Linked DNA regions of Homo sapiens: region 2 is linked to region 1. The links are contacts of gene promoters, found by promoter capture Hi-C in human tissues and cell types (Jung and others, 2019). All regions are on one chromosome and are shown on one strand. The core of a region is centred on a gene start or on the middle of the fragment in contact, and the rest is flanking DNA. Distances in the headings are between cores, read along the strand shown.

Region 1 (6,699 bases), core at 690-3,189:
CAAAATGTAATAATACACTTTTTGGGATTGTGGAAGATTAGAGACAAAGTTTGTAAGGTAACTAGCACAGAACTTTGGAGTTAGACCTGGGCTCTACCATTTCTAGCTGTGTGACCTTCATTTGCCAAGTTGTATAAGCTTTAAAGCTTTTCCCCAGCTGTAAATCCAATAATGATATCGATTTCACAGTCACAGTACCTAGCACCTTTTTTTTTCTTTTTTTTTTTTGAGACGGAGTCTCGCTCTGTCGCCCAGGCTGGAGTGCAGTGGTGCAATCTCGGCTCACTGCAAGCTCTGCTTCCCGGGTTCACACCATTCTCCTGCCTCAGCCTCCCGAGTAGCTGGGACTACAGTCACCTGCCACCACGCCCAGCTAATTTTTTGTGTTTTTAGTAGAGACGTGATTTCACCGTGTTAGCCAGGATGGTCTTGATCTCCTGACCTCGTGATCCGCCCGCCTCGGCCTCCCAAAGTGCTGGGATTACAGGCGTGAGCCACCGTGCCTGGCCCCTAGCACCATTTTATAGTAATTCTTCCTTTTACACTCCAGTCCCATTAGCCCTGGGCTTCTGGGCTTGTATACTTGGTTTCATCTTTTTTTTTTTTTTTTTTGAGACAGAATCTTGCTCTGTCGCCCAGGCTGGAGTGCAGTGGTGCGATCTTGGCTCACTGCAACCTCCGCCTCCCGGGTTCAAGCGATTCTCCTGCCTCAGCCTCCCGAGTAACTGGGATTAGCGCCACCAGGCCCGGCTAATTTTTGTATTTTTGTAGAGACGGGGTTTCACCATGTTGGCCAGGCTGGTCTCAAACTCCTGACCTCGTGATCCACCCGCCTCGGCTTCCCAAAGTGCTGGGATTACAGGCGTGAGCCACCGTGCCCGGCCAGGTTTCATCATCCTTGAATTTCCTAATTCCTCACCATGTTTGTCGCTTTAGTCATTCCTATTAAGAATTCCCTTCTGGGTACAGGTGCTAGCTAAACTTTCCCTCAGCTTCTCCCCGAACCCTTTGGAAGGAGCAGGAAGGAGGTGAACATCCAACGATCTAAGCATTTGACTCTCCTGCCCTTGTGCAGGCTCTCACCTGACAGCAACCCAATACTCAGGTATAGGTGGGTCAAGGAAGTAGCAAAAGAGGCGAGCAGCATCCCCAGCGCAGCCAAGATGCCTCCAGTCATCACCACGGGCCTGGGCCCGAACTTCGTGCTCAGGGCACTGCCTACCGGGCCTGAGGAAGTGGAAGGGGCGCTGCGAGAAGATCTCAGGGGTCTCCCCCCCAGCATCTCCCGCCCCTCGCCCTTCCACTTCCCAGTCGCCGCATTCCCTCTCCCTTCCGAGGGTCGCAGTCCGCCAGATCCAGGCGCCGCACTCACTCCCAAACTGCTGCACCGCGATTCCTATGGAGGCGATCCAGGAGACGCGCGCTGCCTGCTCCTCAAACGCCGCCACAAACTCCACGAAGAAGACCCCAAAGGAGCGGAGCACCCCAAACACAAGCGCCGACTGGAAGAACGCTGAGAGCACCACCACCCATCCCCAGCCCCCGTCGGGGGGCTCTGTCCTGCGCGCCATCTAAGCGGTAACAGGGCTGCTGCCACCCAGAGCCTCTGCAGGAGCCGGGTTCTGGACGCCGCACCTCTGCACACCCACCCCCGCTGCCGGGTGGCTCGGGGCCGAGAGGGGTTGGAGAGGCAGGTAGAGAGGAAGGGCCCGACGAGGCGGCGAGAGGCCCCTGCACCTTTTCCCAAGGCGGGGCGATATAGGACTGAAGACCTGGCCCGCGCTGGCCGGGCCAGAGTCTCCCGGGGGCGTGGTTCCGCGAGCTCGGAGCTGAGCTAGTTCAAGCCGGGGCCGGATCGGTCCCGGTTCGGTGTTCGGCTGGGAGCCAGAGGGTGGAACTGAGTTTGGGCCCCACCCCTGGAGCGCGCCAGTTTCCGTGTAGATGATCTATTTTATCACTGGGGTGTCCGGGCCGGGCCACCCTGGAGCTCGCCAATGAGGACGCGGGGCTCCCGGGCAGGGGCGGAACGAGAAGGGCAGGGCGGGATTTAGGCATTGTTGGGGACCAGCAGTGAATGGGCGCATGCGTAAGGAGGGGCGTTAGGAGGCTGACTAGGTAGGGCCCCACGTGACGCGGGGACTGCCAGGAAGCTTCCGTCTCCTCTTCACCTAGCGGGCCAAGTCATCCCCGTTTCAGCACCCAGAGCCACACGGAAGGGTTAGTGGTGGGTAAACTGGGTCTGGAGAGGAGAGGACTCTCTTGCTTTAATGAGGGGTCCAGGAATTGCAAGGCCCTGTTGGGGGTAGGGGAGGGGTTAGGAGATGAGACTCAAACGAAGTGTTTGGCGCAGCGCCTGAAGCCACTAACACGCAGCCCTAGGCACGCAGACCTAGAAGCCTGGATCCCTGAGAAGTTCAACGGCTAAGGGAAGAGAGAAGGGGAATGAGTTGGACTCCTGGCGTTCATTTCTGTAGTGGGAACTCGTTCCTGTCACTTCTGTTCCCACTAACAGGAAACCTACAGGTCACAGAGACCAAAAATAACTGAGGAGAGGAAGGGCGGCTGTAAGCTCACACAGGGCCCCACCAACACCACCTACCTCTTCCTCACTGGGGCTGGAACCTTTTCCTCTGCCCTCTAGTAACAACCACTTCCTAACCACCTTTTTTGATCTGATGGTGGGGTAGACTAAAGAGACAAACTATGACCCTGGCCACTGGAGCAGTCAGCCCCCTCTTACCCAAGTAGTCCTCAGGCCCCTAGCAAACACTCCCCAGTCCTTCCCAGTCTCCATAACACCAATGGCTTGGATTTCCTGTTCCTTCATTATAAGCCATACTTCCCAGGACCCTGACCTTGAAACCGTGGACTCAATGTTCACTCCCAGATTACTGGGGAAAGCAGCAAACAAGAAGTGGAGGCAGGGAGGGAGGTGTGTAGTCTTAAAAGACATATTGAGCCTTAAATAATTTTATATGTGGGAAATAAAAGTAATCATCAATAATACACATATATACTTTCTAAGAGTCAAAATGTCGGCTGGTGGGGAATATGCCAAAGATACAGAAATTGCTGTGGCTGTATTACATAGTGATTAAGAACTCGGGTCTTTAGAATCAGATCACAGTTCCAGTCTTTTATTTATTTATTTATTTATTTATTTATTTATTTATTTATTTATTTTGAGATGGAGTCTTGCTCTGTGGCCCAGGCTGGAGTGCAGTGGCATGATCTTGGCTCACTGCAACCTCCACCTCCCGGGTTCAAGTGATTCTCCTGCCTCAGTCTCCTGAGTTTCTGGGATTACAGGCTCCCACCACAACGCCCAGTTAATTTTGGTATTTTTAGTAGAGACGAGGTCTCACCATGTTGGCCACGCTGGTCTCGAACTCCTGACCTCAAGTGATCCACCAGCCTTGGCCTCCCAAAGTTCTGGGATTACAGGCGTGAGCCACCGTGCCTGGCCCAGTTCCAATCTTGACTTTATTACTTAACTCGATCAAGATGCTGAATCTCTCAGTTGGTTTCCCCATCTGTAAACTGGGGATAATAGTACCTACTATTAAGCGTTGCCCAAGGGGTTCAGTTAGAAAATCCATGCACTAAAAATGCTTAGTTTATGTGCTGACATGCAGCAGGAGCCAAGTAATATTAGCTTAGCTGGTCTTATTGGTGTTATTTTCAACAGGGGATAAGCTGCTGTAGTGGGAAGTGAAGGAAGGTTTTAGTTTAGTGTTTTTTTTTTTGTTTTTTGTTTTTTGTTTTGAGATGGAGTTTTGCTCTTGTCTCCCAGGCTGGAGTGCAATGGCATGATCTCGGCTCACTGCGACCTCCACCTCCTGGGTTCAAGTGATTCTCCTGCCTCAGTCTCCCGAATAGGTGGGACTACAGGTGTTTGCCACTATGCCTGGCTAAATTTTTTGTATTTTTAGTAGAGACAGGGTTTCACCATTTTGGTCAGGCTGGTCTCGAACTCCTGACCTCAGGTGATCTGCCTGCCTGGGCCTCCCAAAGTGCTGGGATTATAGGCGTGAGCCACCATGCCCTGCCTAGTTTTTGTTTTTTGATTAAAAAAAAAAAAAATCTAATCCAGGTCATGGGTTTAAAAAGATTGAGAAACGACCACTGCGATGGTTTGAATGTTACCTCCAAAAACTCATATTGAAACTTAATCCCCAACTTGGCGGTACTGAGAGGTGGAAACTTTAAAAGGTGATTGGATGGGATTAATGGATTAATTAATCCCCATGAATTAGCCCACCATAATGGATTAATAGGTTAACAGATTAACCCCATCATAAAGGACTAAAAGGTTAATAGATTAATGGGTTATCATGGGAGGGGAATTGTCGGCTTTTTCAGACAGATCCAAGCTAGAACATTAGCATGCTTAGCCCCCTTTGCCATGTGACACCCTGTGCCACAGAGAGTCCATATCAGCAAGAAAACCCTCACTAGAGGGTGAGGCCCCTGGACCTTGGATTTCTCAGCCTCCATACTATAAGAAATAAATTCATTTTCTTTATAAATTACCCAGTTTCAGATAATCTGTTGTAAGCAACAGAAAATGAACTGAATGAGACAGAAAACTGGTACCAAGAAGTGGGGTGTTGCTGATAATGAATAACGGAAAATGATGAAGTGGCTTTGGAAGTGGGTGATGGGCAGAGGCTGGAAGCATTTGGAGGAGTAGGCTAGAAAAAGCCTAGATTCTGGAGAGGTCTTAGAAGACAAGAAGACTAAGAAAAGTTTGGAATTCTTTAGAGATTGGTTAAGTGTTTATGACTAGAATGTTGATAGAAATATGGAAGCAGCTGGGCGGGGTGGCTCACGCCTGTAATCCCAGCACTTTGGAAAGCTGAGGTGGGCGGATCATGAGGTCAGGAGATTGAGACCATCCTGGCCAACATGGTGAAACCTGTCTCTACTAAAAATACAAAAATTAGCTGGGCATGGTAGCACTCGCCTGTAATCCCAGCTACTCGGGAGGGTGAGGCAGGAGAATCGCTTGAACCAGGGAGTCGGAGGTTGCAGTGAGCCGAGATCGTGCCACTGCACTCCAGCCTGGGCGAAAGAGCGAGACTCCATCTCAAAAAAAAAAAAAAAAAAAAGAAATATGGAAGCAAAAGCCATTCTGATGAGCTTTCAGATGGAACTGAGGAGCAAGGTATTGAAAACTGGAGTAAAGGCCATCCTTGTTACGAACTGGCAAAGAGCTTGGCTAAACTGTATCCATGCCCAAGGGCTTTGTGGAAGGCTGAAGTTGAGAGTGATGAACTAGGGTATCTGGCAGGCAGAAGACATTTCTAAGCAGCAAAATGCTGAGGCTGCTGTGTGGTTGCTTCTAACTGCTTAAGATGATCTCACAGAGAAAAGAAACAGAGTGGAAACATTTGGAAAATTCTCAGCCTGGCCATGTGGTAGAGAATGAAAGAGCATTTTCAGGAGATGAATCCAAGGGCGTGGCCAAGCCACTTCTTGCTAAAAAGATTAACATGGCTAAAAAGGAGCCAGGTGCTCTTCCTCAAGAAAATGGAAGAAAGTCCCTGAACTCATTTCAGAGGTCTTTGAGGCTGCCCCTCCCATCACAGGCCCAGAGGCCTTGGAGGACAGAGGGTTTCAGGGTACAGGCCCTGGGTGCTCTCCATGGGCTCACCGCCCAGGGCAACCTCAGGACTCTGCACCCCACACCCCAGTGTAGCACTCTGTGGCCACCCCAGCCTGGTGGTGGCTTAAGTGGCCCCAGGTGTTCCTTGTGTGTGTGTGTGTGTGTGTGTGTGTGTGTGTGTGTGTGTTGCTTGTATTGAAGCTCCAGAAGGTGCAAATCATAGACCTTTGCTGCATCCTTGTGGTGCTAATTCTGCAGTCTTGCAGAAAGTAAGAGCTGTGAAGGCTTGGCAGTCTCCACATGGATTTCAAAGGATGTTGTTGAAAGCCTAGGGGCCCAGGCAGGGACTTGTCACAGGGGCAGAGCCACTGCAGAGAGCCCCCACCAGAGCAATACCCAGCAGCAATGTGATGTTGAAGTTGCCTCAGAGAGTGCCTGCCAGGACAATGCCTATTGGAATTGTGGAAGCAAGGCCACTGCAGAGCCCCCACTGGGGTAGTCCTTGGTGGAGCCATAGGAACAAGGCCAATGCACACAGTCCCCAGTAGGGCAATGCCTAGTACAGCCGTGGAAGCAGGACCACCACCAGGCCCCCAGAACTTTGGAATCACAGGCAGCAGGCAGCGCCCCCCTCCCCCCAGGAAACTTCAGGCACCAGACTCCAGCCCACCCACCAAAGCCACAGGGCTGGGTTGCCTGAAGCCTTGGGGATCCAACTCCCACCCTGTGTCCAGGAGGTGCCACATGTAGTCAAAAAAGATTATTCTCTACCTTTAAGTCGCAATGTTGGCCGGGTGCGGTGGCTTACGCTTGTAATCCCAGCACTTTGGGAGGTCGAGGCGGGCAGATCACGAGGTCAGGAGTTCAAGACGAGCCTGGCCAACACAGTGAAACCCCATCTCTACTAAAAATACAAAAATTAGCTGGGTGTGTTGGTGGGCACCTGTAATCCCAGATGCTTGGGAGGCTGAGGCAGGAGAATCGCTTGAACCTGGGAGGCGGAGGTTGCAGTGAGCGAGATCGCGCCACTGCACTCCAGCCTGAGTGACAGAGCTAGATTCCTTTCAAAAAAAAAAAAAAAAAGGTGTCAT
Region 2 (6,699 bases), core at 1,083-3,582, 150 kb before region 1:
ACCAAGCTGGAGCAGGAGTTCACAGAGTGCTTCTCAGGTGAGGCCACAGCAAGGCTGTTGCCAGCATGTAGGGTGCCCTTGCTCGGATTAGAAAGAGCTCCCCCGCCACCCCCAGTGGATGGCTTAGAAAGAGGTGCCCCTGTGGGCGCGGCATGGTGGCTCACGCCTGTAATCCCAGCACTGGCGGGCACCTGTAATCCCAGCTACTCGGTAGGCCGAGGCAGGAGAATCGCTTGAACCTGGGAGGCAGAGGTTGCAGTGAGCCGAGATCGCACCACTGCACTCCAGCCTGGCGCTAAGAGCAAAACTCAATCTCAAAAAAAAAAAAAAAAAAAAAAAAGAGGTGCCCCTGTGGGCGGGTGCAGCCCCAGGACTTATGGCTTGGAGAGTTGGAAAGAGGTGCCCCTTCCTCTGGGCTGGTGCAACCCCCTTGGCCAGGTGTCCTCTGGCCCTTCCTTGGCCTCACTCCCTGCTCCACCCCACTCCCAGCCATCGTGGAGGGTGACAGCTTTGAGGAGATCTACCACAAGGTGAAGCGTGTCATCGAGGACCTCTCAGGCCCCTACATCTGGGTTCCAGCCCGAGAGAGACTCTGATTCCTGCCCTGGCTTGGCCTGGACTCGCCCTGCCTCCATCACCTGGGCCCTTGGTCTGGACTGAATTGCCCAAGCCCTTGGCTCCCCCCGGCCTCCCTCCCACCCCTTCTTATTTATTTCCTTTCTAACTGGATCCAGCCTGTTGGAGGGGGGACACTCCTCTGCATGTATCCCCGCACCCCAGAACTGGGCTCCTGAACGCCAGGAACCTGGGGTCTGGGGGGGAGCTGGGCTCCTTGTTCCGAGCCCTTGCTCCTTAGGATCCCCGCCCCCACCTGCCCCCAATGCACACACAGACCCACCGGGGGCCACCTGCCCTCCCCCATCCTCTCCCACACACATTCCAGAAGTCAGGGCCCCCTCGAGGAGCACCCGCTGCAGGGATGCAGGGCCACAGGCCTCCGCTCTCTCCTAAGGCAGGGTCTGGGGTCACCCCTGCCCTCATCGTAATTCCCCATGTTCCTTGATTTCTCATTTATTTTTTCCACTTTTTTTCTTCTCAAAGGTGGTTTTTTGGGGGGAGAAGCAGGGGACTCCGCAGCGGGCCCCTGCCTTCCACATGCCCCCACCATTTTTCTTTGCCGGTTTGCATGAGTGGAAGGTCTAAATGTGGCTTTTTTTTTTTTTTTTCCTGGGAATTTTTTTGGGGAAAAGGGAGGGATGGGTCTAGGGAGTGGGAAATGCGGGAGGGAGGGTGGGGGGCAGGGGTCGGGGGTCGGGTGTCCGGGAGCCAGGGAAGACTGGAAATGCTGCCGCCTTCTGCAATTTATTTATTTTTTTCTTTTGAGAGAGTGAAAGGAAGAGACAGATACTTGAAACTTGGTGTGTGGCCTGGTTATTTGGGACCTGGGTGTGGAGGGAGATGGGCGCAGCAGAGTCAGATCCTTCTTCACTCCAAGCCAGAGAGGTTAGTGGCCTGGAAAATGGGCCAGGGAGGTAACTGGCAAATCAAGGAACCCGAGTTGGTGAAGACTGAGCCTGGGAAGGTCTGGAGCTCTGTCCAAAGTCATGACAGGCCAGAAAGGGGAGGCTGGAACTTGTCTGGGGCCCTGCAGACTTAGTCCAGCTCTGATCCCTGCCGGGCTGTCTCAGTCCTGTTGGGAAGCACAACAGTCCTTAAAGGAAAATAGAGAGGAAACTTCGTTCATTCATGTTCATGGAGTTGTGGACAGAGCTAGGATCTGGAAATGATTTTTTTTGTTTTTTTGTTTTTTTTTTTGAGACAGAGTCTTGCTCTGTCGCACAGGCTGGAGTGCAGTGGCTCGATCTCGGCTCACTGTGATCTCTGCCACCCTGGTTCAAGTGATTCTCCTGCCTCAGCCCCCTGAGTAGCTGGGATTACAGATTACTGCCACCATGCCTGGCTAATTTTGTATTTTTAGTAGAGATGGGGTTTCACCATGTTGGTCAGGCTGGTCTTGAACTCCTGACCTTGTTATCCACCCGCCTCAGCCTCCCAAAGTGCTGGGATTACAGGCGTGAGCCACCGCGCCTGGCCTGGAAATGATCTTTACAGAGTTCTGCTGATAAGAACTGCTGTGTGAATATACGCTAGGTTTCTTTATGCGCCCCCCCCACCCTTTTTTTTTTTTTTTTGAGACAGAGTTTCGCTCTTTCGCTCAGGCTGGAGTGCTGTGGTGCGATCTTGGCTCACTGCAACCTCTGCCTGCTGGGTTCACACGGTTCTCCTGCCTCAGCCTCTCGAATAGCTGGGATTACAGGCGCCTGCCACCACTCCTGGCTAATTTTTGTATTTTTAGTAGAGATGGGGTTTTGCTTTGTTGGCCAGGCTGGTCTCGAACTCCTGACCTCAGGTGATCCGCCCAGCTTGGCCTCCCACAGTGTTAAGATTACAGGCATGAGCCACTACGCCCAGCCTTTATGTCCTATCTCTATGGGAAAGATCTGAGGCAGCTTTGTAAATAATGAGGGTAGGAAAATAAGAATCTAAATGCCAAAGATGAAAACTGGAGAAATGTATATGAACTGTGAGGGTAAATGTGATCTCTGAGCTTCCTGATAGCCATGGCAAAAAAGGAAATTGTCAATTACCTACTTCTTTATTATAAGGGAGAAATAATTTTAGTTCTTTTAGGGAGTCATATTTTCCTGGCCCTAAGTCCTAACTGAAGCTCCTGAGATCCTGCTATGTAGAATGGTGACTCTCAGCCTTCTGCCTTCTTCATGTGTTTGGCACAGATGAACCTTTGGGGGCACCTGCTGGGGTACTATTCCTTTCTCTGATTCTCAGGTGCTCCAGTGGGTAAGGCTGAGGCAGAGGGCCCTAAGAGTTATGGTGGTTAAATCCCAAACAGTGCAAAAGGGCATTTTTTGTAGCCACTCCTGACTAAAGTTGAGAGTTTCATGCAAAAGACCAACCCAGGGGTAGTGATTCTGTGGATGGCATGGCCGTCCAAGCCTAAAGTAGTCCAAGAATAGAGGCAGAGATTGCTGAAGGGGTGTCACTTCAACCAGTAGCCACGTATTGCCCTGCAGGATTTTCTATGCAGGACCGAGTCCATCAGGATCCTGGGGATAGGGACCAGGGGTCTGCATTTCTGGAAAGCTCCCGGGTGATTTTGATGTCTCACTGGGTGGAGAAGCACTGCTTCAGAGGATTTTTTTTTTTTTTTTTTTGAGGTCGAGTTTCACTTTTGTTGCCCAAGCTGGAGTGCAATGGCGCGATCTCGGCTCACTGCAACCTCCAACTCCAGGGTTCAAGTGATTCTCCTGCCTCAGCTTCCCAAGTAGCTGGGATTACAGATGCGTGCCATAACACACAGCTATTTTTTAATATTTTTAGTAGAAACGGGGTTTCACCATGTTAGCCAAGCTGGTCTCAAACTCTTGACCTCAGGTGATCTGCCCGCCTTGGCCTCCCAAAGTGCTGGGATTACAGGCGTGAGCCACTGCACCTGGCCCTGATGTTTTTCAAATAATCCTTCTCTTAGCTTGGTTCTGTGTAATAGCAGATGGCTTGAGGCTGTGATAACGTTCTCTATCGTGAGCTGAAGGGAGAAATCTAGGAGCTGAGGAAGGTGTGTGCAGGTAATGCGTCTGCGTGTTAAACTAGAAGGGGCAGAATCACATATTTGACCTGGATGGGGTAGAATCACATAATTTTGCATGTATTATTATTATTATTATTATTATTATTATTGGAGACAGAGTTTCGCTCTTGTTGCCCAGGCTGGAGTGCAGTGGTGCGATCTCTGCTCACTGCAACCTCTGCCTTCCGGATTCAAGCTATTCTCCTGCCTCAGCCTCCCGAGTAGCTGGGATTACAGGTGCATGCCACCACGCCCAGCTAATTTTTTGTATTTAGTAGAGATGGGGATTTCACCATATTGATCAGGCTGGTCTCGAACTCCTGACCTCGGGTGATCCACCCCCCCCCCCCTCGGCCTCCCAAAGTGCTAGGATTACAGGCATGAGCCACCGCGCCTGGCCTGCATGCATTATTTTGTAAATTATAATCAGTACACGTACCTGACAACAATTCAAATAAATATAGAAATACATACTGTTTTTAAAAAGTTTCCTTCCTGTTTCCCTCCAGGCATTATTCCTCAGGGGAAGCACGGTTGCCGCTGGGGCTGTATTCTTCCAAGGCCATGGCCTGGCCGCTTGAGAAGGCAATGTAATTAATGCATTGGAGCCCTGGGCTCCCAAACAACATAGGTTCAAATCCTGGTTCCTCTTCTCCCCACACTTTTTACTTCTTTCAGTAAATACTTCCTTGGATGTTCCTTGGAACCAGGCAGTGTTCTAGATGCTGGGAAGGCAACATCCCTGTCCTTAGGGAACTTTGGGTGCATCCAGTGGAGATGACAGACTATAGGGAGTAAGTGAACACAGAGTGTTTAGACAATGATGGGTGCTACTATGAAAGAGAGTGATGGCCCTTGCTGGTTTAGACCGGGCGGTCAGGGAGGCCCCTTGCAGCATCATTTGGGTGGAGGCCTGAAGGACAACAAAGACTGGGGTGGTGAGAGTGTGCCAAGTAGGGAGACGAACAGTCTGGAAGGAATAAATTTGAAAGGTTGGAGGACAGAAGGAGGCCACTGGAGTGGAGTAGGGTGGGGGACAGAGAGAAATAGGTGTGTCAGAGAAGTCAGAGAGGCGTGGCACACAGGACTTCCCGTGGATTTTTCAGAGTGGTGTAGAAGCTGCTGGAGGGCTGTGGAGGGAACCGTGAGCCAGTTACTCTGGGTGTGAAGGGGAATACACAGCAGGGGGCAATGGAGAGCCAGCTAGGCTGTTGCTGGCGTTAGGATGAGGGACGATGGTGGAGTCACTGTCACTCTGGGGAGAGCTTAACCTCTCTAAGCCTCAGTATACCTAGCTGTAAAATGGAAATAACTACCTACCTTGGTGGATACTTGGGAGGAATAAACTGGAAAGTACACGTAAAGCCCTCAGCACAGTGCCTGACGCATGGTAGAAAATGGTAGCAATTATTGTCATTGGCCTCTTGGTCTATTTTCAGATATGCATAAGCCCAAAAGTTAAAGCCTGGAATCATTTGGAGTTTTAACAAGTTTTACCCTCAAAAAGTAGGAAAGAGGCAGGCCTGGCATGGTGGCTCACGCCTGTAATCCCAGCACTTTGGGAGGCTGAGGTGGGCAGATCACGAGGTCAGGAGTTCAAGACCAGCCTGGCCAACATGGTGAAACCCTGTCTCTACTAAAAAAACAAACAAACAAAAAAAGCTGGGGGTGGTGGCGGGCGCCTGTAATCCCAGCTACTGGGGAGGCTGAGGCAGGAGAATCCCTTGAACCCGGGAGGCGGAGTTTACAGTCAGCTGAGATTGCGCCACTGCACTCCAGCTTGGGCGACAGGGCAAGACTCTGTCTCAAAAAAAAAGTAGGAAAGAGGTATAGAGAGGGTCCTGGGTCAGAGAATCCTGGCTGTCCCAAGGTTGAAAAGGTGTGCCTGGGGTGGACAGAGTGGCATTGAGGAGGAGAGAGCTGGGGGGAGAGAGACCCTACTGGAGACAGGGAGCTTGGGCCCCCATTCCTGCAGGCCGGCTTCTTGTCAACTGCAGAGATGGGATATTGAAGCCCTTGGGGTGGGTTGTGTCAGCTCAGATTTAAACTTGTGTGCAGAGGCCCGTCTGCTCCTTTCAGCACTGGTGGTCCCCCTCTTCCCTTGCCCTGGCGCACAGCCCTCCAGCCCGAAAGGTTGGAGGATAGCCTTCCTTTTCCTCAACCTCCCCTGCTTCATCTCAACCCAATTCCTGCTCAGCCTCTTCTAGATATGGGACCATAGGCCGCCCTCTTTGGGAAGTTCGTGAAGAGCCTCTGCTTTGCCCCTCCTGCCTGTTTGTTCAGGTGCCTCTTTTCAGATCTGCGGGTATTAGACTCCCTGCAGGCCTGGGAGGAGGTCTAGCTCCAGCCCTTGGGTGCACAGGCCCATCCCAAACATGAGGCTGGAAAGTGCTCTGAGAGGGTTGGCAAGGACTGAGGGAGCTCAGAATCCTTCTCCATAGCAGGGGAAGGGACTGTCTCAACTCAGATAACCCCCGGGCCTCCAGCTCTGTCCCAGCGAAGTTGCTATAACCACCCTCTGGGGTGTGGGGACAGACATCCTCTGCCATCCTGATCCCAATCTTCTCCCTTTTCTCCTCCTCCCAAACTGGAAGAGGCCTTGGAGGTCTAATGCAACTCATGGCTGTGTTGCTAGTGAGAATAATAAAAATAAAATCAGCTAGCACGTGCTGAGCACCTGGTGTGTGCCAGCACTGCGCTAAGTGCTTTTCACTCATTATCCCATTTAACCTTGATGAGCACTCTGAGCGGGGCATGAACCCATTTTCCAGATGAGGGCAAGGTGGAGCAGGTCTGGCTGATGGAGGGCCTCAGGCTGGTTTTGCAGCATGAGCATCTTCCTGGAGCCTCCGGCCTTCGGCAAGCTTCTTGCTCAGCAGCCACAAGCCCTCTTGCTTCCAGCCCCTTCTCCTCTGTTCACCAGCGGCTCAGGCCTCCCCCAATCTGAAAATACTCCAGTCTTCCTGACTTACCCTTATGGGAAGTTCATTCCATTATCTCTCCTCAGCAAAATATATATATATATGTACACTTTTTTTTTTTTTTTGAGATGG

What was found. Contacts are between HindIII fragments. The study calls those that stand out against the background at their distance.
Region 2: a contact is called between a fragment that was not itself captured here and the fragment with the promoter of SLC16A13 in region 1, in 1 of the 25 tissues and cell types used here (liver).

The regions. Positions count from the first base shown.
Region 1 is chr17:7,031,255-7,037,953 of GRCh38, reverse strand. It overlaps SLC16A13 (solute carrier family 16 member 13), which reads right to left and starts at 1,939. Exons shown (of 4, transcript NM_201566.3): 1 at 1,373-1,939; 2 at 1,084-1,227. The coding sequence starts at 1,571. RefSeq lists enhancers at 1,372-1,611, 2,342-2,391, 2,000-2,500. The HindIII fragment of the contact is 7,914 bases long and covers 1-6,699 here.
Region 2 is chr17:7,184,605-7,191,303 of GRCh38, reverse strand. DLG4 (discs large MAGUK scaffold protein 4) reads left to right here. Exons shown (of 20, transcript NM_001321075.3): 19 at 1-37; 20 at 490-4,117. The coding sequence ends at 596. Among named protein-coding and RNA genes, the nearest start is that of ASGR1, 8.6 kb to the right of the region's middle. RefSeq lists a silencer at 4,483-4,652. The HindIII fragment of the contact is 8,875 bases long and covers 1-6,699 here.